Linked DNA regions of Homo sapiens: all the other regions are linked to region 3. Evidence: promoter capture Hi-C in human tissues and cell types (Jung and others, 2019). All regions are on one chromosome and are shown on one strand. Each heading gives the region's core, a stretch centred on a gene start or on the middle of the fragment in contact. The rest is flanking DNA. Distances are from core to core; before and after follow the strand shown. Region 1 overlaps TPRG1 (tumor protein p63 regulated 1). Region 2 overlaps TPRG1 (tumor protein p63 regulated 1). Region 3 holds the start of CLDN1 (claudin 1).

What was found. Contacts are between HindIII fragments. The study calls those that stand out against the background at their distance.
Region 1: a fragment that was not itself captured here is called in contact with the fragment with the promoter of CLDN1 in region 3 in 1 of the 25 tissues and cell types used here (thymus).
Region 2: a fragment that was not itself captured here is called in contact with the fragment with the promoter of CLDN1 in region 3 in 1 of the 25 tissues and cell types used here (mesenchymal stem cells).

Annotation. Positions count from the first base shown.
Region 1 is chr3:189,241,471-189,246,296 of GRCh38, forward strand. The region is part of intron 4 of TPRG1 (tumor protein p63 regulated 1); the gene reads left to right. Among named protein-coding and RNA genes, the nearest start is that of TPRG1-AS2, 3.3 kb to the left of the region's middle. The HindIII fragment of the contact is 3,005 bases long and covers 26-3,030 here.
Region 2 is chr3:189,258,124-189,262,328 of GRCh38, forward strand. The region is part of intron 4 of TPRG1 (tumor protein p63 regulated 1); the gene reads left to right. Among named protein-coding and RNA genes, the nearest start is that of TPRG1-AS2, 20 kb to the left of the region's middle. The HindIII fragment of the contact is 8,541 bases long and covers 1-4,205 here.
Region 3 is chr3:190,319,911-190,324,196 of GRCh38, forward strand. It overlaps CLDN1 (claudin 1), which reads right to left and starts at 2,536. Exons shown (of 4, transcript NM_021101.5): 1 at 2,074-2,536. The coding sequence starts at 2,296. It also overlaps a transcript of CLDN16 not described here. RefSeq lists a silencer at 2,527-2,686. The HindIII fragment of the contact is 5,719 bases long and covers 1-4,286 here.

The DNA of each region.
Region 1 (4,826 bases), core at 278-2,777, 1.1 Mb before region 3:
GTAAGAGCTATTTGTGTATTAGAGAACTGAATTCCTTTTCTGTCCTATATGTTGCAAATAAATTTTTCCCAGTTTGTCATATCTCTTTTAACATTATTATGCTATTTTTCATGACCTTTAGTTTTGGGGTATTGATATGGTTTGGTTGTGTCCCCACCAAAATATCAACCTGGACTCTATCTCCCAGAATTTCCACATGTTGTGGGAGGGACCCATGGAGAGGTAATTGAATCATGGGGGCTGGTCTTTCCAGTGCTATTCTTGTGATAATGAATAAGTCTCATGAGATTTGATGAGTTTATTACGGGGTTCTGCTTTTGCTTCTTGCTCATTTTCTCTTGCTGCCACCATGTAAGAAGTGCCTTTTGCTTCCTGCCATGATTCTGAGGTCTTCCCATCCATGTGAAACTGTAAGTCCAATTAAACCTCTTTTTGTTCCCTGTTTGGGGTATGTCTTTATCAGCAGTGTGAAACAAACTAATACAGGTATCAAATTTCTCATTCTTTCAAGGCTTCTAAATTTATGTCTTTTTGAGAAAAGCTTTCTCCATACTATAATTATAAAGTAAATTTCCAAGTTTTTGTCTAGTAATTTTATTTTACTGTTAACAACGAACTTATATTTCATCTAAAATTTGCCTTGAGTAAAGAAGAAGGTATGCAATCAACTTGAATTTTTATCCAGATGGCAGGCTAGATTTCTCGATATCATATATTTGATATTTTATGTTTATTATTTTATAATGTAGTACTTTTCTCTGTGTGTTTCTGTACCTGGATTTTCTATTCCATTCCATTTGTGTCTCTTAAAGCTCAAAATGGTTTTAATTATTATAACCTTATATTATGTGTCAATATCTGGTTGAGTTATTCCCCATTTATTAATCGTTTTTTATTTATGCATATTTATTTTTTAATCAGCTTGTCTAATGTTTGAAAGTCTTATTTTTATTAAGATTTTCAAATATTAAGTCAGTTCTTCATTCCTAAGGTAAACATGTTTGGTTGTGACATATTATTCTTTTTATGCATTAGTGGATTTAGTTTGCTAATATTTTATGGATAATTTTTGTGCCTGTGTTCATGAGGGGTATTAGTCTGTTATTTTCATTTTTTAAAATGTTTTTGCTAGGTTTTCATATTTTGGCTATGCTGCCATCATAAAACAAGTTGGAAAATGTTCCCTCCTCTTTTATTTTTTAAAAGATTTTTTATATGAGTGGAGTTATCTTTTCATTGACTGTTTGATAGAGTTAATAAGGGAAATCTTGGCCTGATCATTTCTTGGTGGGAAATTCTCATAATAAAGTTAATTTCTTTTATAAATATTGTGTTTATCATAATTTTTTCTCCTCAGGAGGCCCTCCCATCACAGGTCCTGAGGCCTAAGAGGACTAATTTTTTTATTTCATATTAATTTTGATAAATTATATTTTTAAAGGAATTTGTTGTTTATTTAAGTTGTTGCAGCTGAAGGCATAAAGTTGTTAATAATATTTCCTTATAATCCCTTTAATGTCCATAAGATATTTAGTGATATCTTCTTTCTTTCCTCATATTGGTGATTTTATTTATTCTCTCATTGGTATAAAGAAATATTTAAGACCAGGTGATTTATAAAGAAAATAAGTTTAATTGGCTTATAGTTCTGCAGGTTATACAGGAAGCATAATGGATTCCACTTCTGTGGAGGCCTTAGGAAATTTCTAATCATGGCAGAAAACAAAGGGGGAGTGAGGCATCTTGCATAGTGGGAGCAGGAGCAAGAGAGAGAGGGGTAGGTGCTACATACTTCTAAGTGACCAGATCTCACTATTGTGAGGACAATACAAAGAGGATGATACCCATTCCTGCTAAATCTGCCCTCATAATCCAATCACCTCCCATTAGGCCCCACTTCTAACACTGGGGGTTTAGTCCTCCTAGGCCTCAGGACCTGTGATGGGAGGACCCCCCAAGGAGGTCTCTAAAATGCCTGTGAGTTGTTTTCCCTATTGTCCTGGCTATGAGCATTTGCTCCTTTTTATATATGCAAACTTCTGAAGCCTACCTGAATTCTTCCCCTGAAAATTGGCTTTTTTTTTTCCTACCATATGGCCAGTCTTCAAATTTTCCAACTTTTATGCTGTTTCTTCTTTAAACATGAGTCCAACTTTAAGTCATTTCTTTGCTCATATGTATGAGTATAGGTTCTTAGAAGCAGCCAGGTCACATCTTGAATGTGTTGATGCTTAGAAATTTCTTCCACTAGATAATCCTAAATCATCACTCTCAAGTTGAAACTTCCACAGATACCTAGGGCAGAGGCACAGTGCAGCCAAGTTCCTTGCTAAGGCATAACAAAAGTGACCTTTGCTCCAGTTCCAAATAAGTTTCTCATTTACATTTGAGACTTAATTAGCCTGGCTTTCACTGTCTATATCACTATCAGCATTTTGGTGATAACCACTCAGCCAGTCTCTAGAAAGTTCCAAACGTTTCCTCATCCTCCTGTCTTCTTCTGAACCCTCTAAACTCATTCAACCTCTGCCTGTTACCCAATTTCAAAGTTGCTTCCATATTTTTAGGTATCTTTATAGTAATGCCCTATTCCTGGTACCAATTTTCTGTATTATTCTGTTCTCTCATTGCTATAAAGAAATATCTGCGACTGGGTAATTTATTAAAAAAAGAGGTTTGCCGTGTGCAATGGCTCACACCTGTAATCCCAGCACTTTGGGAGGCCAAGGTGGATGGATCACTTGAGGTCAGGAGTTCGAGACCACCCTAGCCAACATGGTGAAACCCCGTTTCTATTAAAAATACAAAAATTAGCCAGGCATGATGGTGCATGCCTGTAATCCCAGGCTGAGACAGGAGAATTGCTTGAACCTGGGAGGTGGAGATTTCAGTGAGCCAAGATCGAGCCACTGCACTCCAGCCTGGGTGACAGAGATGAGACTCCATCTCAAAAAAAGAAGAAAAAAAAGAGGTTTAATTGGTTCAGAGTTCTGCAGACTATACAGAAACTTCTGTTTCTAGAGAGGCCTCAGGAAGTTTCCAATCATGGCAGAAGGAAAAAGGGAACAAGGCATCTCACATGGTAGGAGCAGGAGCAAGAGAGAAAGTGGGGAGATGCTACACACTTTTAAATGACCAGATCTTACAAGAACTCACTCACTATCATGAGGAGAGTACCAAGAGGATGGCATTAAACCATTCCTGAGAAATAGGCCCCCATGATCCAATCATCTTCCATCAGGCCCCACCTCCAACACTGGGGATTACAATTCAAGATGAGAATTGGTGGGGACACAGATCCAAACCATATCAGTGATCTGTGTCTTCCCTCTTTTTTCTCTTCTGTTGATGATCATACCAATTCTGTTGGTTTTTAACAAGATCATGCTTTTCACTTGGTTAACTTTTACTATTGTTTTGCTAATTACTAATTAGTTGATCTCTATCTCTGCTCTCTTTTTTTGTTGTTGAGGCAGTTTCACTCTTGTTGCCCAAGCTGGAGTGCAACGGTATGATCTTGGCTCACCGCAGCCTCCACCTCCGGAGTTCAAGCGATTCTCCTGCCTCAGCCTCCCAAGTAGCTGAGATTACAGGCAGGTGCCACCATGCCCAGCTAATTTTTTGTATTTTTAGTAGAGATGGAGTTTCTCCATGTTGGTCAGGCTGGTCTTGAACTCTCGACCTCAGGTGATCCGCCTGCCTTGGCCTCTCAAAGTACTGGGATTACAGGTGTGAGCCACTGCGCCCGGTTCATTTCTACTCTTTTCCTTATTATTTCCTTTCTTCTACTTTGGGTTTACTTTTTCTTTTTTTAACTTCTTGAAGTGCAGCCCAAGGTTATTGATTTTAAACTTTCCTAATATGAACATCTACAGTTATAAATTTCCTTTTAAGTACTACTTTTGCTGCTTCCCAGAGATTTTGATATGTTGTGTGTCTATTATCATTTAGAGATATTTTTAAATTTTTCTTGTGATTTTCCTCTTGACCCATGGATGCATTGTAAGTTGTATTGGCTAATTTCCAAATATTTCAGGTTTTTATAGATATCTTAATTATACTTAATTCTAATTTAGAGAGCATACTGTCTTTAATTTTATTCCTTACTGATACTTTCGGATTTGTTTTATGAAGCTCATTATGATATATCTTTGTGAATTTGTCATGTACACTTGAATTTTATTTGTAGTTTTTTACAAATATCAATTGGGATATTGTGTTTGATAATGCTATTTAGATTATATATATTTTTACTGATTTTTTGTGTAGTTTTTTAATAGTTACTGAGTGGAGTGCAAAAATCTATCACTGTGGAATTTTCTAGTTTTCTTTTTAATTTTGTTAACTTTTGCCTCACATATTTTGAGTCTATTATTAGGTGCATGCACATTTATGATTGGTGTCTTTCTGGTGAATTGAGCCTTTTTTTCATTATGAAGTATTCTTTATTTCTGGCAAAATTCTATGTTATAAAGTTTATTTTAAAATCTGACATTATTGTAACTACTGTGTCATCTTTATACTTACTGTTTGTATAGTGATATGATTTGGCCGTGTCCTCACCCAAATCTCATCTTGAACTGTAGCTCTCATAATCCCCATGTGTCGTGGGAGGGACCTGATGGGAGGTAATAGAATCATGGGGGTAGATTTTTCCCATGTTTTTCTCTTGATAGTGAATAAATCTCAATATATCTGATGGTTTTATAAAGGGCAGTTCCTCTGCACATGCTCTTTTGCTTGCCACCATGTAAGACGTCCCTTTGCTCCTCCTTCACCTTCCGCTATGATTATAAGGCCTCCCCAGCCACTTAGAACCGTGAGTC
Region 2 (4,205 bases), core at 394-2,893, 1.1 Mb before region 3:
TCATCTTCATGGATTTATTTACCTTTGGTCTTTGCTGTTGGTGACCTTCAGATGGAGTTTTTGTGTGGTCATCCTTTTTTTTTTTATATTGATGTTACTCTTTCCTGTTTGTTAGTTTTCCTTCTAAGTCAGGCCCCTCTTCTGCAAGTCTCCTGGAGTTTGCTGGGGGTCCACTCCAGACCCTGTTTGCCTGGGTATCACCAGCAGAGGGTGCAGAACAGCTAAGATTGCTGCCTGCTCCTTCCTCTGGAAGCTTTGTCCCAGAGAGGCACCAACCAGATGCTAGCCAGAGCTCTTGTGTTTGAGGTGTCTGTTGACCCCTGCTGGACGTGTCTCCCCATCAGGAGGCATGGGGGTCAGGGACTGACTTGAGGAGGCAGTGTGTCCCTTGGCAGAGCTCAAGCACTGTGCTGGGAGATATGCTGCTCTCGTCAGAGCTGGCAGGCAGGAATGTTCAAGTCTGCTGAAACTGTGCCCACAGCCGCCCCTTCCCCCAGGTGCTCTGTCCCAGGCAGATGAAAGATTTATCTATAAGCCCCTGATTGGGGCTGCTGCCTTTCTTTCGGAGATGCCCTGCCCAGAGAGGAGGAATCTAGAGAGGCAGTCTGGCTACAGCAGTTTTGCGGCGCTGCAGTGGGCTCCATCCAGTCCGAACTTCCCAGTGGCTTTGTTTACACTGTGAGGGGAAAACTGCCTACTCAAGCCTTAGTAATGGTGGACGCCCCTCCCCCAACCAAGCTCAGTGTCCCAGGTCGACTTCAGACTGCTGTGTTGGCAGCGAGAATTTCAAGCCAGTGGATCTTAGCTTGCTGGGCTCCATGCGGGTGGGATCCACTGAGGAAGACCACTTGGCTCCCTGGCTTCAGCCCTCTTTCTAGAGTGAACAGTTCTGTCTTGCTGTGTTCCAGGGACCAATGGGGTATGAAAAAAACTCCTGCAGCTAGCTTGGTGTCTGCCCAGATGGCCTCCCAGTTTTGTGCTTGAAACCCAGGGCTCTGGTGGTGTAGGCACCTGAGAGAATCTCCTGGTCTGTGGGTTGTGAAGATCGTGGGGAAAGCGTAGTGTCTAGGCCAGAATGCACCATCCCTCATGGCACAGTCCTTCATGGCTTCCCTTGGCTAGGGGAGGGAGTTCCCTGACCCCTTGGGCTTCCCAGGTGAGGCGACACCCCACCCTGCTTCTGCTTGCCCTCTGTGGGCTGTACCCACTGTCTAATCAGTCCCAATGAGATGAACTGGGTACCTCAGTTGGAAATGCAGAAATCACCCCTTCTGTGTTGATCTTGCTGGGAGCTGCAGGCTGGAGCTATTCCTGTTCAGCCATCTTGCCCAGGAATCCCTTTTTTTTTTTTTTTTTTTTTTTACGAAGTCTTGCTCTGTTGCCCAGGCTGGAATGCAGTAGTGTGATCTCGGCTCACTGCAACCAACCCCCACCTCCTGGGTTCAAGTGACTCTCCTGCCTCAGCCTCCCAAGTAGCTGGGATTACAGGTGTCTGCCACCACACCCTGATAATTTTTTGTATTTTTGGTAGAGACGGGGTTTCAGCACGTTGGCCAGGCTGGTCTCAAACTCCTGATCTCAAGTGATCCACCCGCCTGGGCCTCCCAGACTGCTGGGATTATAGGTGCAAACCACCATGTCTGGCCTATTTGTTTTTTATGCCCATAAGAAACAACAGTGAAGGAACTGCAATTCTGAGTGGTTGAGTGACTTGTATGCAATCGTGGAAACAGATGATGGTAGCATCTGAAACATGAAATTCTCTGATTTCACCTCCTCCTCTGCCTTTGTCATGTGCCTAATTCTTACTTGTTCTCAAATGCATTGTAATTTTTGATGGTCACTAAGCCCCATTTCTTTCCCCATATTCTCATCTGAACTCTAATGAGGAGATAGAATATAGACAGTTTAAGGCTTAAAGACCTTGTTCTGAAGTCGGGCTGACAGGGAGTCAATCCAGATTTCCCTCTGGGTGACCTGGAGCAAGTTACTTAACAATCCATGCGTCGGTCTTCCCATTTGTAAACTGGAGGGAGGAGGGGAGGGTTGGATAATAGTATCTCTCTTATTGGTCTGTGTTGAGGGTTCCATGAGATAATATGGGTAAAATGCTTAGAAGAACATTTGGTATATAGTAAGCATTTGAATTACGCAAGCATCTTTAATAGTTTTGGTAGAAAGACCTTGGTTTAGGATTCAGGGACCTGGGTCCTGATACATTTTCCTGATATAAGTCCCCTCCCCTTGCTGAATCTCCTCTTGCTAAATTTCTAAAATCTCTAATTTTTCTTTGTATTGAATCCTATACCCTTGTAGTACTATATTAGTGTAGCAATTTTCCAAAAGCCATTCATCTTAGAGGGCTAAATGATTTTACCTTATCAATTCCTCCTGTGAAAAAATATCTCTAAAGAGGTTTTCTGCTGGAAAATATTGTTGCTGTCACATTGATATGCCAACAAAAGCTAAGCAGGGAGGTCAGGCCAAGAAATATCTCCCTGCAAGAGAAGGCATCGCACATGTATCTCTCCATGCTATTTAAATTTGCATTCTGCAACATAGAAGGGATAGGCCATGCTGCAGAAGCCAGGTCCAGGAAACTGCTTTCTTTGGCCTTTACACATCCTTTTGGAGAGATGCTGGTGAAAGCAGCAACTACCATCTGCCTCCTGTTGACTTAGTGTCAGCAGGTGGAGGGAGGAAGGAGGGCATCGCAGACATCATTCTATTATCTCAACCTTGCTTTCTCGGATCCAAAGGCCAAGAAGTTGCTGCTCCATGCCCTCAGAGCTCTAATTTGGCACCTCTTCCTGAAATGAGAGCTTGAAAGGGCTTCTGCTCTGGGTGAAACCGGCTCGTGGCCCGGGCCAATTCTGCTGGCTTCGCGTCTGTCAGTGTGTCCTAATCACTGTTATAAGTGTGGTTCTGCGGAACATCTTGTAAAATATTTTCCTATTGCTCCAGCAACATCTCCTGTCTAGACAATCTAATTATGAACACAGAGCAAATAGCTGAAGTGTATGCCGCCCCCAAGGGTTGCATAACTCCAGGAATGGGGCTAGGAAGACAGGGGAGGGAGGTGTGTGTGATGTTCATTACTTTTTTGTTGACCTGACCAGAAAATTGAGTGCTCCAAAAGAATCTGGCTAACTTTTAATTAAGAAGAAATGATCTGGTGGAAGCTGGCATTTTGTTGTTTTTCCAAAGTCAGTGGAGGATTAAAGGTACTGATGTGTTTCCCTCTAATCACGTCTTTTTCTTGGCTTCAGAGGTGGTTTGTGGTCTTTGCTTAAAAAAAAAAAAAGAAAAAAGCCATTGACTTAATAATCTGCCCTCCCAGCAGCATTTTGCAAACAGAAGGCAGCTCTTTTAACTGTATGTTCTTTCTAAGCAGTAATTTGATTACATTCAGAAAGTCCTTCCTAGGCTTGGCCATGTGGCAGCCATTGTGTACGACAGAGTGGCAAGACATAGCCTCTGCCACCAAGATGTTCACAGTCTCAATGCGATGCAAACGTATGCACACACATGCTTTAGCCCAAAGCAGGCTTTGGTTAGGGCTCCAGCAGAAAACCAACAGTGTCATGGGCACAGGAGAGGGAGAAAGAATTGCTACTGGGAGATATGGGAAGGTCTTAGGAAGAAGGTAGAATCTGAGGAGTTTATTACGGGATGAGCCAAACTTGGACAGAGAAATAGAGAAAGCAGGACAAGGGCAAGCATAAGCTAATGCCCAACTAGTGTGCTCATGTGAAGTCTCCCAGTTGTCTGGGCCCCAACTGTTGGGAAAATATGGTGAAAGTTTCTAAATGGTTTTGAATGATGGTATGAGGAGTTTGGGTTTCAGTCATATTAGGATATGAGATTATTGAAGGTTTTTGGGGAGGAGCCTGAAATGATTGACATTTTGCCTCAAAAAGATAAGAATGGTGACAATATAAGAGATAGTTTGGAGAAAAGAGAAGCTGGACAAAAGGGCCAGCTAAGGGAGAAATTCTGTCATAGTAGAGTTGGGAAATTCTAAGGATTTGAACTGGGCCAGTGGTTGGGAAAAAGAGAGCATGGGTCTGAGAAGACTTGGTATAAGTATAAGTATAAGTATAAGTATAAGTATAAGTATAAGTATAAGTATAAGACTTGGTAGAAGTATATGAAGTATACGTCTTTGAAATGACTGGATTGGGTTTTTTCTGGTGTGGGAGAGG
Region 3 (4,286 bases), core at 1,286-3,785:
GGTGAGAGGAGAACACCTGTGAGTCAAGGGTCCCTCTTCTGAGAATGGGTTTTGAGAGAAAGGCCTAAGCCACACCTTGGATAAACTATGGCTTTAAGTAAAATAAAAGTGGATTCTGATCTGGAGTTTTAAAAAAATAGGAAGACATCTCTAAAGTGTGTGTGGGGGGGTAGGTATTTAGTCCTTTCACCCTAGTTTTAAAAACTGTAATAACTACATTAACCAAAAAATGAAAGTAAAACATTTTAACACATTATCATGTGTAAGGATGATCCATTTGAGTATTTACAACATAGATCAATCTGATTTCATTTGGTCATTTCAGGAAGTTAAAAGAAAACCTATTTAAAGATGTTGAAAAGGAACTATTTTGATCAGAGGAATAAAACTGACAGTGAGACCTCTCTGGAATTGTCCTTAGAAACCTCCACCTGCCAATTCCTTAACGTGGTACCTAAAATGCCTGACACCGTTTCCTTAAATATATTTATCTTTCCATGGAGAAATTCAATAATTATTACCAAATTTTTCATTTTATAAGTACAAATATAACCCCTGAGGGCAATGAGCAACACATAATTACTAAACTTATGGATTGGTTTTGGTGTAAAGAAGTCCTGATATGAGAACCTTCAAAAGCTGAAATAATAACACTCAAAACAACCATGCACATTGACTGAGCAAATGCCACAGGTATTCAAGGTGTTCAAACAGATTTGGAACAGGTTTAATAACTCTAAACTATATGGCTTTTGATATACACTATTAAAAGTTGTCCCTTGATAGGAGGTAGACAAAACAAGTTAAGTAAACTTGAACAATGCCAACACTTTTCACCCTTAGCATGCAATGGGGGCCAGTGGGCAGTCACGTTCATCTAGGCAAAGACTAAGGGATCTTTTCTTCAAGTGAGTTAAAGGGCATAACAGACACATGATATAAGACAATTAATGTGATTTCTCAAGGAAGATACTCCAGCCGTGAATCATTATTATCTAAGTAAATGGGAATTTAATGACTTTTCGGACAAGGAACTCGAAACCTTTAATTTAAAAAACAAAGTAAAACAATTATCCTATTATCCTTCTTCCCACCATCCTTAGAAATATGTCTCTCTATACAATCCTTTCCAGTTTTACAGGGGGTCACTGAACATCCATTACACAGAAATTTCTTTGTGGAAGATGGAAACCTAAGGAAGACCCACCTCTTCTTTCTCTCTCACTGCCTTCCACTCCCAGCTGACCTCTGATTTCATCAGCTATGACTATTTTGCTGCATTTCCCTTCAGTGCCTTTACTTTTTTCTTTGTATTATGTTGCGCAGGTTATTTAGAACCTTTCTTGTCAGCCTTTCCCCACCTGCCACCAACCTTCTCTTTCCAAGATAGCACTACACCGTCAGCCTCTACAGAAGACCTTGGGTCTGAAAATTAAAACTTCGGGGGAATCTCAAGCAGCTTCTCCAAAGAGTCTTGCAAGGGGCCTCCCTGCACTAACTGGATCTTATAAATTAAAAGAATCAACCTCAAGCATAAGCAGAAGACACTTAGATAGGACATTTCCAGTAGGAATGTAACTTTTACTATGAAAAAATCATATTAAAGGTTAAAAAGTTATATCTAATACTTGAGGATTATTTATTTAAGCGTGCACACTTGAGAAGTTACCAGGCTTCAAACTTTTTCAGTCATCCCATTTTCTTGTCTGAACTCTACCAATCCTCAATTTACCCCAAATCTCGGAATGCCTAGGAGAGGTCTAAGAGCTCAAGTTCAAGTTTGGCCTTCACTCCCTCAACTCGAACCACCAGCATAGGAATTTAGGATGAAGCCACACCTAGAGTGGCAGAAGTGTCACCCAGGGAGTTAGAGGCAAAACTAGAGCTTATGCCTGGGCGTCGCTTTCCTCAAACCAGGATTCTCTTCATTTCCTTATGACAGAGCACATGATCAGAAGACTTGATCAACTGAAGACTGATAACCATGGAATCACACAACAGAATGAGCCCATAAGGGAGCTGCAGGGGGACTGGGGCCTCTGGACGGCCGCTGTGAGGTGGGGGTGCACTCACTGCTCAGATTCAGCAAGGAGTCAAAGACTTTGCACTGGATCTGCCCGGTGCTCTGCGACACGCAGGACATCCACAGCCCCTCGTACATGGCCTGGGCGGTCACGATGTTGTCGCCGGCATAGGAGTAAATCCTCCACTGGGGCAGGGCAGTGCTGACGATGGCGCCGATCCATCCCAGGAAGGCGAGAATGAAGCCCAACAGCTGCAGCCCCGCGTTGGCCATGACTCGCTCGGGCGCCCGCGCTGGCTCAGGGGTGGCAGGTGCAGAAGGCGGAGAGTTTGCAGGTGGGCAACCCGGACTCCCGAAGGTGGCTGGGCCCCGCGGAGGAAGTTAAGGCGGGGAGCCCTGCTCGCTGCGCCGCCGCTGGAGAAGCTCTGGGTCGGGGTTGGGGTCCGCGCCCGGGGCGGCGCTGGAGTCTGGATACTAGAAGCTGCGGTTGCTCCCAGGCTCGGGAACTGAGACGCAGAACCGCTGGGCGCCGCGATTTAAAGCAGCTCCGCCCGCCTCAGCCCCGGCAGCCGGGGAGCGCCCCCTGGCGGTTTCAGGGCGGCTCACCGAGAGGGCGCCGGGAGCGCCCGGTTGGGGAACGCGCGGCTGGCGGCGTGGGGACCACCCGGCAGGACCAGGCACCAGAGCTGCGTCCCTGCTCGCTTTCTCTCGTGGATCTTCTCGCTCCTGTAAGGCGTTTCACGCTTTTCATTCATTCACTCCAATTATCCAAAAATTACTATGCACTGTACTTGTAAATCCTAACACAAAGATGAAAAAATGATCCTTCAAGAGCTGCAGTTTTAGGTTTAATACTTTTTTCCCAATATCTTATTAAAAGGCATTTCTACCCAACTCCGCGTCTCCTCCCCCATCACACCATTTCTCTCTCCTTTGCTTGGCTTCCTCCCCCTTCTTTCCTCTCTCTGCTCTCTTCTGTCAAGGTCGTTCCATCACTTGTCTCTGCAAGGAGCCTCAGAGACTTTTACACTCTACAGATTGGGAAACAGACCCAGAGAGCAACATGATTTACACACACACACACACACACACACAGACACACTCACGCACGGAGCATATCCAGTACTTGGCTCCCCTCCCAATCTGCTTTCCACTACATATCAAGTTGACCCAAAATATCCCCTTTGATCTATGATTGTCCTTTTTGATGTATTATTGTCCTTATGAAACTGCAGGCTAGCAGCCCTTCCCCGCCAAACACCAACCTCCTCCCCACAGCAGTTATGTCTTAGAGCAGCAATTCATTATCAGAGGGACCTGGCCAGTGCCCCGCTCTCCCTGAAAGGTGTTAATTTTGTGAGTTATCAAATGTTGTTCGTCGCAGGTGAGGACATGTAAACAGCGTTTCCCCAGTGGCAAAAGGACTGGGCTGGAGTTGAGGAAGTCTGGGCTCTGGTTCCAGCTTTTACTGTGACTGGCTATCTCACCCCTCCGGTTTCGGTCTCGCTGGGACTGTAGTTTCCCTCTATGTTTCTCCAAAGCTTCCTTCTTTGTAGTTAGTCAGAAGTGCTGTTGTGGTTAGGAATCATTGAAATGTTTTTCCAACTGCTTTTTGTGTGTGGTGCGAGTGTGGTGGGAGGGGAAGCTTCTATGGTTTTAGTAAAAACAGAAGCATCTTGGAAGCAGAAATAAACATATTAAGGATAAAATAAGATATACCCTTATATACCATGGCAACTGCTAGTTGGTGACAGAGAAGGAAAGGTGCAAATTCTCAAGGTGGGAATGGGAAGAAAGGCCAAGCCCCACCACCTTCATTTCCACCTGGCTCTCCCTGGATGCCTTTCATGTAGGCTTAAAACTAAAGGACTTGGCCGTGCTAGGATTTAGGGACAAGCAATGAAGAATGTAAGACAGGAGCTAGATGAAGACAATTAATTTGGACTGAGATTAACACAGTGAATACTGTCTTTCTCCTATCAGCTGTTTAGGACAAGACCATGTTCGTGTTGTATCCCAGGGTTAGGGCCTGCAGTCAGTACTACTGTCTAGGTCTCAGTGGATGTTCTGTGGGTGCCTGTCAGTGTGGATGAAGATGTATCAATCACATTTGATTTTGTAAAAATTCCCTGATCAGAGAAGGCACTGGAATTTGCTGCAGGACTAGAGCAGTACCATGTGAATCATATAATCTCATTTTCTTCTTTTTTTTGTTCCAAACATTTAAGAATTAAAAGTATTATTAAACACCCGGGCACGGTGG